Regions from separate parts of the Homo sapiens genome. Here region 2 is linked to region 1. The links are contacts of gene promoters, found by promoter capture Hi-C in blood cells and fetal thymus (Javierre and others, 2016). All regions are on one chromosome and are shown on one strand. Each heading gives the region's core, a stretch centred on a gene start or on the middle of the fragment in contact. The rest is flanking DNA. Distances are from core to core; before and after follow the strand shown.

What was found. The method cuts DNA at HindIII sites, captures the fragments that hold promoters and counts their contacts. A CHiCAGO score of 5 or more calls a contact.
Region 2: a fragment that was not itself captured here is called in contact with the fragment with the promoter of TNFRSF21 in region 1 in 2 of 17 cell types (monocytes and megakaryocytes); the score reaches 8.2 in monocytes.

Annotation. Positions count from the first base shown.
Region 1 is chr6:47,308,247-47,312,271 of GRCh38, forward strand. It overlaps TNFRSF21 (TNF receptor superfamily member 21), which reads right to left and starts at 1,659. Exons shown (of 6, transcript NM_014452.5): 1 at 1,170-1,659. The coding sequence starts at 1,265. RefSeq lists enhancers at 610-1,332, 1,496-1,675, 1,627-1,921 and a silencer at 1,126-1,355. The HindIII fragment of the contact is 9,028 bases long and covers 1,602-4,025 here.
Region 2 is chr6:47,113,970-47,117,994 of GRCh38, forward strand. No RefSeq gene overlaps it. Among named protein-coding and RNA genes, the nearest start is that of ADGRF1, 74 kb to the left of the region's middle. The HindIII fragment of the contact is 6,107 bases long and covers 1-4,025 here.

The DNA.
Region 1 (4,025 bases), core at 409-2,908:
ATAGCAACTGCAATGTCCTGAGATCTAAGCAGTTCTTGGCTGGCCAGGCGTTAAGCCCTTTTGGGGAAGGAGACAGCAAGCCTGCTTTTCCCTTACACAGCCCTGTCGTGAAAACAAGCTCTTGTTTCTTGGGGGTTTTTTTGTTCGGTTTTTAGCTAAGAATTTCCATCCCTCCTGCAGTGATAAAAGATAGGCAAGGGAAGCTCAAGGGTTTGATCTCAAATTTTCTTCCACCTAACTTGCCCCTTCACCCCAATATTTGGAAATAAAGGGAGGGAATTTGGGGGAAGTTGAGGGTAAGTTTTTGGTCAAGATGATTGACCCGAGATGTGGATGCAGCTTAGACGATGAGGGAGACTGCACCACCCTGCAGGGTCACCTGCCTAGCCACAGGTAAACGAGGGATCGGAAAGACTGTAGAAAATTCATCTTCCTTCACACACATCTCCTTCCCCCTCCCCCCATTCCAGTGCCGGCGCGCTGGCTGGCTGGAAGCCGGCGCTTTGGAGGCGCCGGAGAGTGGGTCTAAGGGTGATATTTCGGCATACAGAACCTGAGACCCCACCCGAGCCAAGAGGGAAGAGAGAGGGTAAAGGGATTGAGGAGGGGGCGGCTTGCGCCCTGCTCGGGAATGCACCGCGCGACAGCACCCGGAGGTCTCCGGTGTCCGGCGCGCACCGGTACCACTGTCTTCCACTGCGGTAGCATCCCGACATGACATTGCAGCTGCAACAAAGCGCCGGCCTCGGCCGGCCGTGGGAGCCCCACACCGCGGCGAGGCCCCACACCACGCAGAGGGGCAGTGGCCGATGGGTGGGGGGCTGTGGCTGCGGGCGTGGGGAGCGCGAGGTAGGCCGAGTAGGGGGAAAAGCCCTCAAATGCGCAGAAGCTGGGCGGCTACCTCTAGCGTCTCCTCCAGCAAAGCCAGACTGCAAGGAAAACAATTCGTCTTCATTCCCCAGCCCCGGCTGAGCCCTGAGATTCCCCCAAATAACCTAGTCGAGGCCCTCTGGTGTGTTGCCTTCCCTTGGAAACCCCTCAGTGCCCGTAACCCAGTCGGCCGGGCCCCGCGCCTCCCTAAGCCCCGGCCCGGTGACCCGCCCGGCTCCCGGAGAGCGGTTCCTTCTGCTCCGGCGCCGCCGCCACCCCCGGTCCACGCAAGCGCTCACCAGGAGAAGGGAGCCCGCGATCATCGTGGCTGTGGCTCGGCGGGCGATGCGGCTGCAGGAGGCGAGGGCGGTGCTGCTGCTCGGAGAGGTCCCCATGGCTGAACCGGGGACTCGCAGGGGCGCCCGGGGCGCGCGGGGCAGCTGGAATCGGCGGCTGCTTCTGCCCAGCGCCGCATCCACCGCCGCCTCCCGGGCCGGGAGCCCATCTACCTCCAACACCCCATGTGCACTGCTGCGGCCGGGCAGAGGAGGGAGGCGGCAAGGGAGGCTCTAGGGGCGCTCAGCACCTGCCCAGCGGCGCGGCCGCCCAGGCGGGGAGAAGCCGCCGCGACTGCAGCCCGCGTCTCCGGGTGCTCTCCTCCGACAGCGGCTGAGGAGAACCAGGGAGGAGGACTGGGCGCGAGAGAGCAAAGGAACGACTTCCCATAGCGAAGCTTCCAGCCACTGCCAACCACCCTCCTCCGCTGCCCAGACTGGTCGGCGAGGGACTGAGTCGGTGGCCACCGGGCGCAGGGACACACGTGGTGGCGCCGAAGGGGCGGGGGACCGGCCCTTTGTGATGTCACCCGGGAGGAGGCCGGGCTCTTTGTGCGGTTGGAAAGGCGAAGGCGTTCCAGGTAGAGCGGGGAGGGAGAGGGTGCCCCTTGGCGTTCGCTGAGGAAATTGCACGCGCCTGTTGACCCAGGGAAAGCGCTGAGAAAGCATCTCACTCCTGATCTAACTTTACTTATTTTTTCCGAGATAATTCCAACTAAATTATTTCAGCTACATACGCCTTTCCATTGTTTCGGACACGATGATTAAATCAGAGAGCGATGGTGAATAGACCACAGAGCACTTAGATCAACTGCGTGACGAAAAAGGAGACCTGTGTGTTGCTTCTCAAACTTTGCTGCCCTGTGGAATCACCTGGAGAGTTCAAAACATATATATTGATTCTTGGGTCCCACCTCTAGAGACTCTGATTTAATTGGAACAGGACAGGATCTGGTCTGGGCATTGAGGTTTGTTGTTGTTGTTGTTTGTTTGTTTTTTAAGTTTTCAGGGTGATTTTAATATGGGGCAAAGATTTTAATTTTTTATATTTTAATTTTAATATGGGCTTATGAATGCAATTAAGGAAATCCAAACTAAAAGGATTTAAAACCCAGAGTCATTGGTGTTGGGTCCATGGATGGTCTTGGAGGGACTTTTGAACTCCTTGAAATGTATCAAAAGATGCATTTTCCTAATTTAAAAATCAAGAGTTTTGAATCGGATTATCCCTGAGATTTTTTTTAATCACCCTTCCCCCAAAAAATAATGCTAAAAATTTTTGAGTTGATTTCCAAAGGCCTTGTCAGGATGTGGGTGGTAGAATAGGTAGTATTCTGCTTCAGAAGGAGAACTGGAATATTCTCGTGGATGTTGGTATCTCACACACTTCTGAATGTAAGAGAGCAGCTGTTATCCTTTTCTTTGTTTCACCTGGGGGAAGGCCGAGTCTCCTGACTGTGGCCACCATTTCTGGTATCGTGTTATCCATCATCTAGGTACTGACAGCACATGGCACACTGTATTGATATTACCTCTTCAGCCATCCAGTCCACACCCCTCAATTGGGAGCCCTATGGTGCTGGGCTTATCCTAGGCTCCTTTGGTCCCATTTCAAAAGAATCACACTTTTTAAACTATCAGTTTCAAGATCCAACACCCAGTGCTAATAAAGGTAACTTGCTAAGTCATAGGTACCAATTATTTGCTTTATTAGTTAACATGTTGTCCTTTGATTCTTTGCTCTATGCACACTTTGGTAGAAGCTAAAATTAATATGAGGGTTAATTCCAATCTATTATTTCAAACATTTGTCAGTATTGTCTATAAATGTTAGAGTGGGAAAAAAGCTACAATATATAACCTCTAGTGAAATTCAAAGGAGTTCTAGAAAATATTACCATTAATTATGGAGTTTTGGGGAAAGGATGATGGTTGGACTTGCCACTCTCTAGCTATTTTCAGAAGTTGAAAGAGTGAGGGATAGATGCTGTGTTTTCATGCATAACTGTATCAATTTTTTCTTCAAAAATTCAAATGACTGGCCAATACTATTATAAGGTTGGGTTGTTTTTTTTTAAGAAGTTACATAGGTATTAAAGAGGAGGAGGAGCTTCAAATACGTTTTTATTTAGTCCATTTTACTCCTTGCATCCAAACTCACATTTTTCGTGGTAATATATGATTGATTTGCTCTAAAGAGTTGGGCAACTTTAGAGTTTAGTGTCTGGGTTACTATGCAGGTATAAGAAGTTCTTCTCAACTATTTGTCTTCCTAAAACTAAAAGAAAATTGTTTATTTGTGCTTGGACCACTTTGAAACTTCATGAATTCCTGGTGTTCCATTGATCATATCAAGTTGAAATTTAATATACATTTTGAGAGATGAAAAAATTTACTCAATTCTGTTTACTACTAACATTTAAATACATGTCCCTCTATAGAGTGATAGATTATAGATAATTTGAATCTAGATGCAGTGTGAAATTTTATTACTTTGAATTGAAATGTATACATGCCTTCCATTTTGAAGTAACAATGCTGCAACCATTAAATAATTCATTGCCACATTTTCAATGTGGTAACTTAGACATGTCTGTTTTCTGGGAAAGGATAAAAATTCAATGATACATAAGGAAGTTTCTCCCAAAGTTCCAAGGAAAGAGGAGATATGTGTTGATAAATCATAATTATAGCTAAATTTTAAAGGAAGGCCTAAATGAGTTAATCCAATGTCATCTTTGCCATAAAAATTACTCTATCTCCACCCTCCATCCTACCTTTGGACTTTCTCTCTTTCTGCCAATGTTGTACAATTTTTCT
Region 2 (4,025 bases), core at 518-3,017, 190 kb before region 1:
AACCTCTCTCAGACAGAGGAAGACTCTAGGGTTCAACTGGGTCATCCTCCTGCCTCTCAGCAACTACACCCAACTCGTGAGATACACTCACATCTTTGTAAATTTGACTTCCCTTAAATATCTTTTAATCTCTTTCCAGGTTGAAACTTTTATAGATGTCAGGGTTGCACATTCTGATGTAGAGTAAGAAGGAAGGAGTTGTTCCCTAAATTTTCCCTTTCTTCCCATGTGCAGAGTTTCTGATTTGCACTTAACAGGAGGCTTTGTAACATGTACACCACAGCCATGTATTACAGAAACCACAGGTTTCCAGTGAATACTCCTGGGTTGGTTCAGTCCTTTGTGCAATGTACAAAATCTGGTTACATTTCAGGTCCTGGAACTTCCTGAGATATAAGGGATGATGGGGAGGAAGTGTTAAAGGTAAATGTGGTTTTGAGCCAGGATGATTGAGGCGTGGTCTCTGATAGAATAAGCAAGTCAAGAAGCAGAAAAACATTATAAAAGTTAAGATAGCAAGAGAACAGATTTGTGCGCACATTTTAGTTCATCAATGGGAGTGGAATCATGTATTTACTTATTTAGAGAGAAGGTCTTGCCTTGTCTCCCAGGCTGGAGTACAGTGATCATGTGTGATCACGGCTCACTGCAGCCTTAACCTCCTAGCTCAAGCGATCCTCACACCTCAGCCCCTTTTCCCACACTCCCAGGTAGCTGAGACTATAGGCATGCACCACCACGCCTGGCTAGTTTTTATTTTATTGTACAGATGGGGTCTCACTATGTTGCCCTGGCTTGTCTCAAACTGGGGCTCAGGTGATCCTCCTGACTGAGTAAAATCATTTTAGAGGGCTTTACACCTTCATTCTGGATTCAGAAAATATGAATCTCATTAGATAAATGAGATTGTTTCTAAAGACTTGAGGCAGGGAAGATTGCTGTGCTGCAGAAACTATTATTTGTCACAGGAGGTAACTGGAAGCATAGGAAGGAGATCCTGCAAGATAATATGAAAAATTATTTGATACTTATATATAGATTTAATAATTCTTCCATTTCTGGCATAGTCTTCAAGGAAAAGGGAAATTGTAGGGGTGATTGTAGGGGAACTAACAAGGCTTCCTCTCCCTAAGTCAACTCTGAGTTCTGAACACATTTCAGTATTTGAGAACAGTTCTCAAGTCCCCCCAAAACCTTCTATTTTTTAGTAGAATAGTCTCAGTTCCATCAAGTGATGGTTTCCAAAACCCTCAACACTCACTCTCTTCTGGATATGTTTTAGTTCATCAATATTCTTCTAAAAATATAGCATCTAGACTAGCAGAAAAATCTCTAAATGCCATCTGATCTGGTAAAAATTCAACAGATCTATCATCTCCCTTGTGCTGGCCACATTTTTCCCCTCAATGCAACTTAATGCCACATTGGATTATTTGCTGCAATGAGGCAGTCACAATTGGCTTGTATTGCCTTTGCAGTCAATTAATTCCAGTTTGTCTTTTTCAAATAAATTACTAGTTTATACTTATGCAATTATTTTGTTTTGTTTTTTGTCTGACTAAAGGCAAAAATTAACCCTTGTTAAATTATATTATGTAGATTTTAGCTGCCTGCCAATGAGCTTATTAAGACCATTTTGAATCTGGATACTGACTTCTCATTAACCATCCTTCCCAGCTATATGTCATTCCCAAATTGGTAATCAGGCCAGTTACGACTTCTCTCAAATGTTCAATAAAAATATTCAGCTGTGGGGAGAGAAACAAGCCAAGACCACTGTGGCATACGCTATTATTTTCCTCCTTCTCAACTGGGTTCTTCTTCAGGATCATATTGTTAGTGTTCACTTCATTAACTTAGAAAATATGCCATTCCATTATATAAGTCATTGAAAAACTTAATAACTTTTTTCACAATGCGTTTTTGATAAACTTCAATGGTTTGACGAAACGTAGAAGTAATTACTTCATTAAGAAAAATGTGTCTATGTTTTTAAATTGAATTAAAGAATAATGAAGTATTTTACTTGAGGCTCACATTTGGGTTAATGACATAATAATTTTCTAGCACTAGATCAAAGATGAAGGCCAAAGGGAGAGTTGAGAATCCATAAAATGGATGTATACCATAGGCTAGGATGTAGCTACTCAAACCTCAGCAGTATGTTGACATCACAATTACTTAATGATATTCCTGGATTTTTTATGATTGCATAGGCACCTAAATCACTCTGGGGCTTAACATAAATAGAGCAATAAAAGGGAGCCATCTAAAATAGCATTAACCTTTTAAAATCATGTTTCCCATTGAGTATAAGCTAAGGAATTGGGGTAATTGAGTGACTCATTTTGGCATGATTATAAAAGGGGCAGAGGGGAAACGTGCAAATATGTTGATATTCATCTAACAAATATTTTTAATAAATTAAATTGAGTCTATCCCTGGCTATGGATTCCTGAAGAATAATCACAGTTTATCAGTTAAATAATCTCCAGCCTAACCCGTATCCTCACCTTCTCTCATCTCCACCAAAGAAAATAATGAGATTTGACTTGCTGAGATGGATATGTATCTCACCCCAGCTATAACCTGAGCCTCTTTGACCAGTGAGTTTATGGGAAGGTCTTTTCCCTTCCAGGGGATCAGAGACCACCTGCTCTAAGAAGAGCAGGGAGAAAGTTGGACACACGCACAGAAAGTGGGGCATAGGGCTGGGTAGGGAAACTATTGCAGGGTAATGACGTTTCTCGTCCCTCCTCGGGTCCACCTGGCTGGCCTGGGTGTGGCAAGAATACTTCCGACTCATTCAAAGAAGCCTCACACTAGAGTGAGCAACCTTCCCAGTTTGTCCAGGACTAAGAGGTTGCCAGGAACTGAGATGTTGCCCAGCACAATGAACTTTTAATACCAAAACTGAGAAAGCTCCAGTCACACTGTGATGAGTTGGTTACCTCATACACACAACTGAACAGGAGGATTGTAAGGGCTTATCCGAGTCCACAAATCTCTTCCCTTAATTCTCCCTGAAACCAAAACTAATGGGGGGTGGTGGGGGTAGGGGGTGGAGACCTGTTCTTAATGTTACCTGTCAAAGCTCAAGGTACTGAATTTGACTCCTTCCTATGAATTCCTGAGGATGTGCAGGGTTGGTGGTTTATCATGGGCCATAATCCAAGATGTGAAGGGTGGGTGGTTTGTCATGGGCCATATAACATTGTGGACAGGAACAGAGACTCTGGTCTCAACTGCCTGAATCCAAATGCCGTGTGACCTGGAGAATTTTTCTTATCCTCTCTGTGCTTTCATGTTCTCACTTGTAAAATGGGAATGAGAGTAAGGCCTAACTCGTAAGTTTGCTGTGAGAATTAAATGAGTTATGATAAAGAGCTTAGTACATTACTGGTCACATAGTCCATAAGCATCTGCTATCATGTCTCTCTTTAGCAATCCAGCAGATCTCTGTTTGACCTTTGATCATTGCTTGTGGCGCGCTTTGTATGATCATTCTTTCTCAGCTTCAAGCACCGTGCTAGATACTAAAAATACACTCATGAATAAGACTAAGTTCCAGCTCTGCCACGGCCACAGTATAGTGGGCAAGATAGACAAATTGGCAATTGTGCTAGTAAAGTAAGAAGTAGAACAAGAGTTAAGGAGTCTGTCATGGGATATCTTAGAGGGTGACACAATTCTGTCTTCCCAATTAAGAAAGTGATATCTAGAGTGACATCTGAAGGAGAAGGAATTGGTAGGACAAAGATAGGGAGGAGGCTGATAGGGCATTTCAGGCAGAGGGAAACAACAGCATTTCGATAGCTGTAAAGTATGAGAAACATGTCACTAAAACATTAAATTCCATGCCCTGTGAGTTCCACCGATAGACCTAAAGTTGCGGAAGAAAAAGAATTGTCTCCGGCCGGGCGAGGTGGCTCACGCCTGTATTCCCAGCACTTTGGGAGGCTGACGCGGGCAGATCACGAGGTCAGGAGATCGAGACCATCCTGGCTAACACAGTGAAACCCTGT